2 separate regions of the Homo sapiens genome follow, and region 2 is linked to region 1. Evidence: promoter capture Hi-C in human tissues and cell types (Jung and others, 2019). All regions are on one chromosome and are shown on one strand. The core of a region is centred on a gene start or on the middle of the fragment in contact, and the rest is flanking DNA. Distances in the headings are between cores, read along the strand shown.

Region 1 (5,561 bases), core at 1,113-3,612:
CAGGCATGCATTGAAATCGAACCAGTAACTATTGATCTCTCTTACAATGATGGAAGAGATCTAATAAATACGACAATTGTGCAGGAATGACCCAAGGAGGTGGGTAGTGGGAGGTGGATTTAGGGAGTATCGATCAAAAAGAGACTTCATGATCCTGATGCAGCAGATGAAATAAAAAGTCTTCTGCTGGGATGGGGAGGGGAAAGGAGCACCAGCCCCTCAAATGAAAATATTAGACATTAGATCATATCTCCTGGACATAGCACACAGCATGATGGAGTGGGATGATCAGCGATATGATAATCGATGGAGAGAAAGGTCCAACCTCACCACTTCGGAACAGTGAAAATCTGAGCAGTCATGCCAGTATTTATTGAGCACCTACTGAATGCCAGGCATTTTGCTATATCCCATTGGAGACTTGCAATAACCTTAGGAGGTGAATATTATTATTATTCTCATCATACAGGTAAAGAAAGTATGACTCAGAGAGGGACTTCTACTGTTCCAAAGTCACACAGTAAGTGAGTGGTAGGATCTGGGATTTCAGCCCAGCACTGTTTCAGGTGTTGTGAGACACACGTGTAGATGACAGATGGAAAATTCCTGCCTCCCAGGAGTTACTTCAAGAAACCTTAACTCCTTCCACGTGTTTTAAGATCGCAAATCTCTCAAATAGCCCCAGAGCTGATCCCTTTGCCTGCTCCCTTAAAATGTGCTGCCTTCCGCCACATAGCCTTGGGAACCAGTGTGACATCCCCCTCCCAGCTGCCAACAGAGGCATAGGGTTTGCCTGCCACCTATCACACCTCTAGCTCAGCTGGGGCAAAGCAGTGGGCTTGAGATCCCGTCAGTGAACGCAAACCACCCCCAGGCAGCATAACTCACCGGCTTGGGCTGCTGCAACAGCTCCCCCCACGCAGATCTCAAAGCCTGAAGATAAATGACCTGCAAAAATAGAACAAAGGCAAGGTGTGGTGGGACTGGGGGGAGAAGAGGAGGGGAAAAGAGAAGGAAGGTGCCACAGAGGGGTGGGAGTGAGGCCTGGGGTGAGAAAGAACAGAAGAGGATCGACATTCTGCAATGCTTTGCAATGGATCTCGACTGGGATGCCTGTCAAATTAGAAAGGCAAGCCTTGTATATTTCAGCAACCCTTGGAAGAAAGATGATAATGAAGACTTTCAGTCTGTGGGAGGGGAATTGAAATCAGATCCAATAATCGAAAGAGCTTGTTTCCCCTGGGAAGACTGGAGACTTAATTAAGTAATGTTTGTAGAGCTTGGAGGGATTCTTGATACCCAGGAAAAAGTAAGCAGTTGCAGAATTTACTCTTCAACCTTGGAGTAGTCAGCAGGCTTTTTTTTTTTTTTTTTTTTTCCTGAAACTCATCAGCTTTTTGCTAGAATCAAACTTTGAGACTTGGTACTTTTCTGAATATGGGTCTCTGGACCAGTGAGCAAATGGCTTTCCCTTTGAGCCTCCTCCTGGCCTTAGACTCCTCTGGCTGTAGTTAATAGGAGAGCAACAAGTCCTTTCCAAGTAAAATGGACAAGAAAATGCCTGCTAAGCCTGGGCCTCCTGGCTTGTTGTCACTCCCTTTTCCCATTCCCTTCCAACAAAACATCCCCAAACTTCAACCTGTATCAAATTCCATCAAAAGAAGCCGCTCAAACCAGCACCCTGTCAGCAATTAAACACAATCCGAAAAGAATGAAAAGGCCGAACCTGGCCGTACATTGATGTACATGTTATGTGATAAATGCCAGAGCCTTGGATCTCATTAATGTCCTCAAGCCATTGTTCTCTAAGTCCAGTGAGACTCATTGACCTTTAAAATCACCCTGATTAGTGAAACCTCTCACTTCTCCCATCCAGGGTGTCCCATTTTCCCCAGACCCTGGGAATGGCATGGGAACTGCTGTGTGGGAGACTGCAAGAAGGAGACCCTGGAGCTAAAGCCAAAGGGTGGTCCTCTTGGGAGAGAGCTTACCACCTGTTTAAGCCAGGACTGTGCAGAAAGGGAGAGTCCAAAGAGCAGTCTCTCACTGGTCTGGCTTTTGTGAACTAGCCTCCTAACTGTAACCACCTTTGCTAGATAATCAGACCCAAACCTAAAATCCCCAGCCCGAGCTCCCACCATCTCTAGGTCCAGAGGACCAGGAATAAGCAAATAAAACCAAGCGATAGAATTCCAGTGCCCCCTCTGGATGTTACCTGCACTCTGCTTTGTCCCTGGGCAGCTTCTGGCCGAGCAGGTCGGAGGTGGCAGTGGCTGGTCCAAGGCTCAGGGGCCTCCTTGACTCCGGCTTGGGAGGAGGTGCCAAAGAGGCAGCTGTGAACACCACCAAAGCCCCTTCAAATGGCAGTTCTGGTGCCTCTTCCCCCCTTTTATGGACGAGAGCCTCCCCTGTCGCTCAGCCCTTGCTGAGCACAGGCTGCTGGGAGCCAATGGGGAAGTGGCTGAGAGCAGTCAGAGCACAGACCCCCAGGCCCTTCAACTCGAACTCCCTGGGCCTGACACAATAGGCTTCTCTTCGTGACAGGGATGTGGAGGAGGAAGGCAGCCGTGTTGGGGAGGGGGCGGATTCTGGGTGTAGTGCTGTTTGTCACTTGAAATCCGGCCACTTCAGTTTTTGATGCGTTTCCAGGAGAGTGTCACAGGAAAAAGAAGACAGGGAAGGACAGAGACAGAAGAGTTAGAGAAAGAGAGAGAGAGAGAGAGACTCAGAGAGAATCGGAAATCGAGAAAGAGGCAATGTCGGACCTAGGGAGTGATACAAAGGAGGGGAGAAAGAGAAAGAAAAACAGAGACAGAGAGTGGCAGAGATAGGGAGATGGGTAGAAACACAAGGAGAGAGGGACAGAGCAAGAAAAAAGGAAACCAGCCAGGTAGACTGTCAGACTCAAAACACACTGATCCACAGACAGACAGACGTGGAGACAGACAGAGGCTGAGACAGTCTTCTGATCACGGAAGAGAGTCGGAAGATGACAGCCGAGTCAGCAGGCACGTGCATGGCCCGCTGTTGCGTGCCGTGGCAACTCTGTGTTGGCTGGTGCACGCGTGTGCTGGAATCTTTTTGTGTGTACATTTGCCTGCAAACGGCATTCGGCTCTGGTACATGCCTGAGCTGGTGCCAGGCACACTAGCCCTGGCAGAAGCACAGCTCTTCCCCGACAGCCAGGAGCTGCAGTTTAGTTTTCTCTGGCGGCAACACAAAATGAATAGCAGGAAAAACCCCTCAAAATATGGGCTGCAATATGCCTCAGCACACACTCTGGGTGAGGGATGGACCCACCTCAATATACCCTTGGCCTGGACCAGCAGCAGCTTGAAGGTGGCACTCTTCATTGCTACAGAGATCTTCCAGAACATAAGGGTCTTTGAGTTTGGAAGAGAACATGCTTCTCTTCTCAGTCAATAGCAGACAGTTTGTGGTGGGAGGCACAACTATTTCAGAAGTCTGGCAGGGCCGCCCATTTTGTGGGCACCTGGCTGCACCAGGCGGTTAGGTAGAGTTGTCAGATTTAATCCTCATGACCTAGCCAGTTGGTTAATATTATCCCCATCTTGCAGATGAGAAAACAGAGGTTTGAGAGCTGAGAAACTTTCCTAGAGACACACAGCAAGTAAGTCATCCAGCTAGAACCTAAAGTCAGGTCCATCTATCCTCCAAGTTCCTAGAGACACACAGCAAGTAAGTCATCCAGCTAGAACCTAAAGTCAGGTCCATCTACCCTCCAAGTTCCTAGAGACACACAGCAAGTAAGTCATCCAGCTAGAACCTAAAGTCAGGTCCATCTACCCTCCAAGTTTCTGCCCCCTCCCTTGCCTCTCCCCAGGCTTGAATCTGCCCACACTGAGGGGTGGGGTCAGTTTTCTTCTCTGGGACTCAGCCTCTCCATACACAGGCTGTGCTTAATGACATTTAAGATGTGAGTTTGACTCTCAGGTCTGCCACTCACCATCGGAGAGACCTTGGATAAGCTGCCAACTTCAACCTCTGATTGCTCATCTGTACAGTGGGGACAACAGTATCATGGGGCTCTTGGGCTCTTGTGAGGGTGAAAGGAGGATGTGTCAATAGCACTTAAAGCAGCCAGTACGGAGCGGATGTTCTGCTCCCATCATTCCTGATAAACCACATCCCTCCAGCTTTGATGCAGCAGGTTCTCCTGGGCATCCTCCTCTCCCTGCACCTGGCTCGTTAAACTCTCACATAAGGAGGAGGGTAGAAGGGGCTGTTTGCTGAACACCTATTATGCCTCAGACATTTCCACATTCCATCACATCCTCACAACAAGAAAACCTGTGGTGTGGATCTCACAATGCGTCCTCAGATGGAGAAGGCAGCAGAAGTTCAGAGAGGCCCCAGCCACCCAGGGAGGGAGGAAGAACCGAGACCCATCCCTCAGATCCTGAAGCTGCAGCCCCACCACACTCCCCTCTGGACCCACAGCCTCACTTTCCTTCTCCTCCCTGTCTCCTCTTCCCGAGGCAGCACAAGGGGTCTGACTGGCGGGTGCAAGCGACTCCTGGTGCCCTATGTGGAAGCCCCTGCCCAGTTGGTGATAGCCAGTGCGCAGGGTCACCAAGCACTTGGCCACATCTCAGGCTGGCTTCTTGCATGGTGGCCAGAGGACATGAGTGGAGTCTATTCATTGCCACCCTGGGAATCTGGGAGCCCAGGAGTGAGCGTCTACTTCATCCCCAAGGCCAAAGCCTCACTCCAACTGCTCTCTTTCCTCATTTTTCATTTCCTCCTTCTCCTCCTAACCTCTGCCTCTATAAGCTCTTGGTAATAACCTTCGAATACACAGAGACTCTTAGAGAGGGAGTACAATGGCTCCCGTGGCTGGAAGTCAGCAAGCACTGGAAGAGCAGAGGACAGGGGCCTCTCCTGACTGTTATTCACCAGAGGGAAGTTGGGGCAGTGAGAGTAGAGACACTCATGGATAATCCTCATTAAGCCATTGATGTCTGATATCCTTCACCCCCTGAGTCTACTGTTGCCTCAAGAGCAAATAGTTCCTGCATTTGCCTTTCCTCTCCTTCCGCAGCCTCCTTTACACACACACACACACACACACACACACACACACACATAGAAGGCCAGGAGCAGCCTTCCCCCTTAGTCCTGGAGAACCTTGCCATAAAGCTCACCCTCTCCTGGGCTCAGTGATGCACCAATCATGGTGCTGGCCCTGTGGGCAGCAGTCCCGGGGGTGGGTACCATGGCTCAGCCAGGCTCACTTCAGCTTAGATCCCGACGCCACTGCTTCCTCACTGTGTGACAACTGATGGATACTTCGCCTCTCTGAGCACCTGAGTCATTCTGAAGACAGGAGGATGCTGCTAGCTTTTATACAGATGTCAGGGCTCATTCCAAAGCTCTAGAATGCTCCCTTCCCTGCACACCCTCCGTGCATGACCAGTTTCTACTGCAGATCTCGAGGTGGGCAAAAGGCAAAGAGTAAAGAAAAGGAAAGATTTAAAACAACCAGTCCTCAAATCACTCCATTAGGTAGGATTCAGGAAGCACAGGCTGGAAGACAGAAA
Region 2 (5,666 bases), core at 1,790-4,289, 52 kb after region 1:
TCCGGCTTTAAAAATAAGGGTATTCTACTTGAAGGATGTTTATTTTAGCCATCCTAATCCTGCAACATATGTAAATTTTAAAAGTTTACTGAAAGGAATAGAGCAGGATAAAATAAATAGATTAGGAAATTGAGATGAAGAGAAAGTAAGAGGAGGCCAAGGGTTAGAATATAGACTTATCATTTGCTAGAGATGTACCTTATCCTTAACCTGAAGATGAAATTTATGTCCAAGCTTTCTAGCAGCCAAAGCAAAGAGATGACCAAAGAGATGTTAGGGCTGTTCAACAGAAATTTCTTCAATGGAGGAAATGTCCTGCAGCTGCAATGTTCTACTCTAGCAACCACTACCCACATGTGGCTATTGAGCACTTGAAATGTGGCTGGCATGACTGAGGACTGGAATTTTACATACTTACTTAATTTTAATTAATGTAAATTGGAGTAGCCACATGTGGTTATACTGGACATGCAGTGTTAGATAATTTACAATGTTTGTTCCATGTGCCAATTACAAACGTACTGCTTCTCAGCTCCAAAGTCTCCCTTTATTGCCTGGTCTGCAATAATAGAGTTGGGCCTTGTGAAGATTCTTCCTTTGCCAGGCAGCACAATGTTAAGCTTTGACATGAGGGGACACAGAAGAGACACTGAAGGAGAAAGGTGTTTCTCTTCCTTTTCCCAGTGCACTTCTCTCCACAGGCTTTTATGGTTTATGCATCACCTGGTTCTGGAAGTGCAGGCTGCTTTTGCAGGTTCTAGCTCCAGTAGCACATGTGGCTTCTCCAGTGTCTGGCTTCTGCAGTGCATGTGGCTTCTGCAGCACCTGGGTCCAGTCTTGGCTTCAACTTCCAACTCCTAAAAGGCAGGCACCAGTCCCTACAGGGTGCAGCAGCCAGCAGTACCCAAATGCAAACAGGTTTCCCCAGAAACTCCTTAGGTGACTTCAGAGTGGAATGCCACAGATGAGGTACCTCCCTGTGAACTGCCTCTGGTGGCTCCCCTTTGGGCAGATTTCCAGCAAGTTTCAAGGCACAGCATCTCTGCATGGATGGTCCTCATTGGGATGCAGGAGGGAAGATTTCAGCAAGTCCCGCTGGGGCAGTAGCTTGGACACTGCTCCACTAGTCAGTGAGCCACAGCCATGCCTTCTCCAACAAGGTCTGGATCACAGTGTGGAGCTCGGGGATCGTCCTCGAGCACTCCATCTCAGTCCTAAGAGTAGTGGGTACTCCTCATACCTGCTATTCCTGCATTCTTTACAGTTCTTCACTTCTTACCAGCCAATCCCTTATTATGCCAATTCTCTCCTATAGTTAACCGTGTTCATATTAAACTTTCTCTGTTCAAATTACTGTACAGTTTTTATCCCCTGACTAGACTCTGGCTGACATAGGAGTCGTCTCAGGAAATAGATCTGTAAAGATGGGACTTGGGCATTGGTTTGGTCATGCCCTTGGGCTTGAGCACAGTAATGAGCTTCTTACCAATGGGAAATGGGATGCTAGCAATTCATTGCATGCAGTGCCAATTAAACAAGCTACAACCAACCGAAGCAAGTGTCCAGGGAGCCCAGGAGGATGCTCCACTTGATTGTTACAGCAGTAATGATGACTGTAATGACTGCAGTGTGGAATATATTCTTTTGAGTGGACTTGAATGCTTATAGGGAGAAAATGCCAAACTCAGCTCAAATCATGACCTGAAAACCAGAGAGGTTAAATGAATATTTTATTTCTTATAGATACAAGGCTGATGTTGCTGAAAAAGATAACAAAAATTTAATTGTGTAGATTGCCGAATTATAGTGTCAGTCAGATTCACAAGCTTACTAAGTTGCTCAAATGAAAGTTGATTGGAAAAAAATGGAATCATAAAACTGGAAACAGGGACATCTGGTTGGACCTAGATGAAGTTGATAATCTTGAATCCCAAAATCACTGTGAGCTTCTCTTACCAGTGGAAGTAGCTTGCCCTCTGGTGTATTAGGACACTAGCATTTCTTTGCTTGATAGCCCTGTGACAACCTCATCTGAGGCAAATACCTTGAAAAGGTATGGTCATTCTTTTCCAAACCCACCACGACCACCTTTTGTTGCCACTAGACCTATAACTAGGGTCAAATAACAGTATGCTCCAGGGAGACAGGTACACATTATGACCTTGGAGAAAATAGCTTAAACACCAAAAGAATTGCAAAAATTTGCTAATGTATATCAGCATTAACCTGGGTAACATGTGTGAGTATGGAATTGAAAGGTGTTAGACCAAGTAGGGTAGATTATAACACTATAGTGAGCAAATTCACTGATGTAAGTGAACTTACTAGTGACTGGATTTGGGGGAGAGCGTGAGAATGTCATACTTTTAAGGAGGATAGCTCTAACTTGTATGGACCTCATGTTACTGGAAGCGTCTCTAACTGCTTTCTTGGTTGTTGACTAAAACTTGGGCTCAATGGTGACTTACACTGAATGATATTGAGATGCCAGAACTTCCCTAAAATTACACAGAGGAGGAAATTCAAAGGCTTAGGGAGACCAGAAGTTTTGCCTGGATGTATCACATGCAATCTGCCCACTCACCTGCCAACTGTCTTCATAAGAAAGCCCAGCAGACACTCACTTGACTAAGGCAATGAGAAATACTAGCTTTGATTATTTCCCAGGTGGAAATACTTCAATCAGAGAATGCAAAAATGATTCCATTGAATTGGAAGGTGAGGCTGTCACTTGGCCATTTTGGGACTCTTTATGCCACTGAATCAATAAGCAGAAAAGGGCGTTATTCTGTGGGTTGGAATGATTGATCCTGATTAACAAGAGAAAACTGGATTGCGGCTGCCACAAAGTGGGGACAAGAAGATCTATGCCTGGAATGCAGTGGATTCTATGGATCGCCTCTTAGTGTGTCCATGCCCAATAATAAACATTAAGATAAAACTATAGCAACCCGAAAAAAGGCAGAATAATTGAGGACTCAGGCCATTTGAGAAGGAAGGTTTGGATTGCCCCATCAAATAAGGAACCCCAACTAACTGAGGCTCTGTTGGAGAGCAAAGGAAACACAAATTGGGTAGTAGAGGCTAGGCGTGGTGATTCACACCTGTAATCCCAGCATTTTAGGAGGCTGAGATGGGTGGATCGCTTGAGCTCAGGAGTTTGAGACCAGTCTGGGCAACATAGTGAGGCCCAATCTCTACAAAAAAATTAAAAATTAGCCAGGTAGAGTGGCATGTGCTTGTAGTCCTAGCTACTCGGGTTGCTGAGGTGGAAGATCGCTTGAGTCTGGGAGGTCAAGGCTGCGGTAGCTGTGACTGCACCACTGTGCACTCCAGCCTGGGAAACAGAGCAAGACCTTGTCTGAGGGGTGGGTAACGGAAGAAGGAAGCCATGGATATCAGCTATGACCTCATGACCTATTACAGAATCAAGGCCTGTAGCAGCTCTGCAAATGCTCTCTTTGCTTGTTAGAAGAATGTGCTAACTACTTTATTCTTTTTCTTCTTATTTTTGTTTTATATTATACAAGTTTTTGAAGCTTAATTTTATAATTTAGCCTTTAGATAACAGAATATTCGGTGGTACTATAACAGATTGAAAGACAATTAATATATCCAGCAATGGATATAATGACTGTCAGGATGGTGCAGTGCCTCATTTTGGGGAGAAGGTGAGAACTGCTTACTAATGTAAGGAGGATAGTTATATCTTGTTAGATGGGAAGAGGAATTGTTTTATTATATGGGACTCTAAATGTGTGTAGAGGGTGCACATGTAAGCCGAGTAGCTGTGGTGACACATGCTAAGGTGATCCCCAATAAGTAAGGGCTTTGTATATCATCACTTCCCCCTTAAATGTAGGGAAACCTGTGACTTACTTCTAGCCAATAGAATACAGCAAAGGTGATAAGATAGTAACTCCCATGATTATATTATGCGATATAAGTCTCCATTTTCGCAGATTTAAGCCAGAGGGTCCTGTGCTGGCTTTTAAGAAGCTGCCATGTCGTGGGCGGAGGGCTATGAGAAGACCTGTGACAGGGCCACGTGGCAAGGTACTATGAGTGACCTCTAGGACCTGAGAGTGACCCGCAGTTGACAACCAGCAAGAAAATGGGGACCTCAGATCTACAATCACAGGGAACTGAATTATGCTCCCAACTACATGAGCTTGGAAAGGGATTCCAAGCTCCAGAAAGGACCACAACCTAGAAGACACCTGGACTGCAACCTGATGAGAGCCTGAGCAAGAAACCCAGCTAAGCCAAGCCCAGACTCCCAACCCATGAAAACTAGGGTCATACGTGTACGTTTGGTTTTTTGTTTTGGTTTGGCTTGGATTTTTTTGTTTGTTTTTAAGTGTACAATTCAGTGGTTTTTAGTATATTCACAATGATGTGCAACTGTCACTACTATTTAATCCCAGAATATTTCCATCATTTCCCACCAAATAACACCATACCTTTTAATTTTTCCCTGCACTCTTCTCTTGGTAACCACTAATTTACTTTTTGTCGCTATAGATTTGACTATGCTGGACATTTTATATAAATAGAATCATACAATATGTGGGCTGTTGTGGCTGGTTTCCTCCACTTAACATGAGGTTTTCAAGGTTTATCCATGTTGCAGCACATGTTAGCATTTCACTCATTTTAATGGCTGAATAATAGGCCTTTATGAGCATGCCACATTTTGTTTATTCATTCATCAGTTGATGAACATTTAGGTTGCTTCCACTTTTTGATGGAACATTCAATCATTTGACCAGTCATCTACAAATTTTTGTGTGGATACATGTTTTTAATTCTCTTGGGTATATACCCAGGAGTATAATTGCTAGATCACATGGCAACTCTCTGTTTAACATTTTGAGGAATTGCCAGATAGTTTTCCAAACTGGCTGCATCATTTTACATTTCCACCAACAATATGTGAGGGTTCCAATTTCTCCACATGCTCAACACTTGTCATCCGTCTTTTTTATTACAACCACCCTAGTGAATGTAAAGTGATATCTCATTATAATTTTGAAATTTGAAAATCTCCCTAATGTCTAATGATGTTTAGCAACCGACTTTGCCCATTTTTAAATTGTTTCTTTATTGTTGAGTGGTAAAAGTTTTTTGTTTGTTTGTTGTTGTTGTTTGTTTGTTTTTGTTTTTGTTTTTGAGACAGAGTTTCACTCTTGTTATCCAGGCTGGAGTGCAATGTCATGATCTCGGCTCCCTGCAACCTTCGCCTCCTAGATTCAAGCAATTCTCCTGCCTCAGCTTCCCAAGTAGCTGGGATTACAGGCACATGCCACCATGCCTGGCTAATTTTGTATTTTTAGTAAAGATAGGGTTTTACTATGTTGGTCAGGCTGGTCTTGAACTCCTGACCTCAGGTGATCCACCCACCTCGGCCTCCCAAACTGCTGGGACTACAGGTGTGAGCCACTGCGCCTGGCCAAGAGTTATTTCTATATTCTGATACCAGGCTTTTATCAATTACATGATTTGTAAATATGTTCCCTCATTCTGTTGGTTGTCATTTCACTTTCTTAATAGTATCCTTGGCCGCACAACAGTTTTTAATTTTGATAAAGTTCAACGTATCCCTTTTTAATTTTGCATCCTGTGCTCTTGATATCACATTTGAGAAACCATTGTCTAATTCAAGA

Evidence for each region. Contacts are between HindIII fragments. The study calls those that stand out against the background at their distance.
Region 2: a contact is called between a fragment that was not itself captured here and the fragment with the promoter of PDYN in region 1, in 1 of the 25 tissues and cell types used here (hippocampus).

What each region holds. Positions count from the first base shown.
Region 1 is chr20:1,991,696-1,997,256 of GRCh38, forward strand. It overlaps PDYN (prodynorphin), which reads right to left and starts at 2,363. Exons shown (of 4, transcript NM_024411.5): 1 at 2,216-2,363; 2 at 889-948. All of the region lies in intron 3 of PDYN-AS1 (PDYN antisense RNA 1), which reads left to right. RefSeq lists an enhancer at 1,903-2,733. The HindIII fragment of the contact is 29,966 bases long and covers 1-5,561 here.
Region 2 is chr20:2,042,746-2,048,411 of GRCh38, forward strand. No RefSeq gene overlaps it. Among named protein-coding and RNA genes, the nearest start is that of PDYN, 52 kb to the left of the region's middle. The HindIII fragment of the contact is 3,633 bases long and covers 1,224-4,856 here.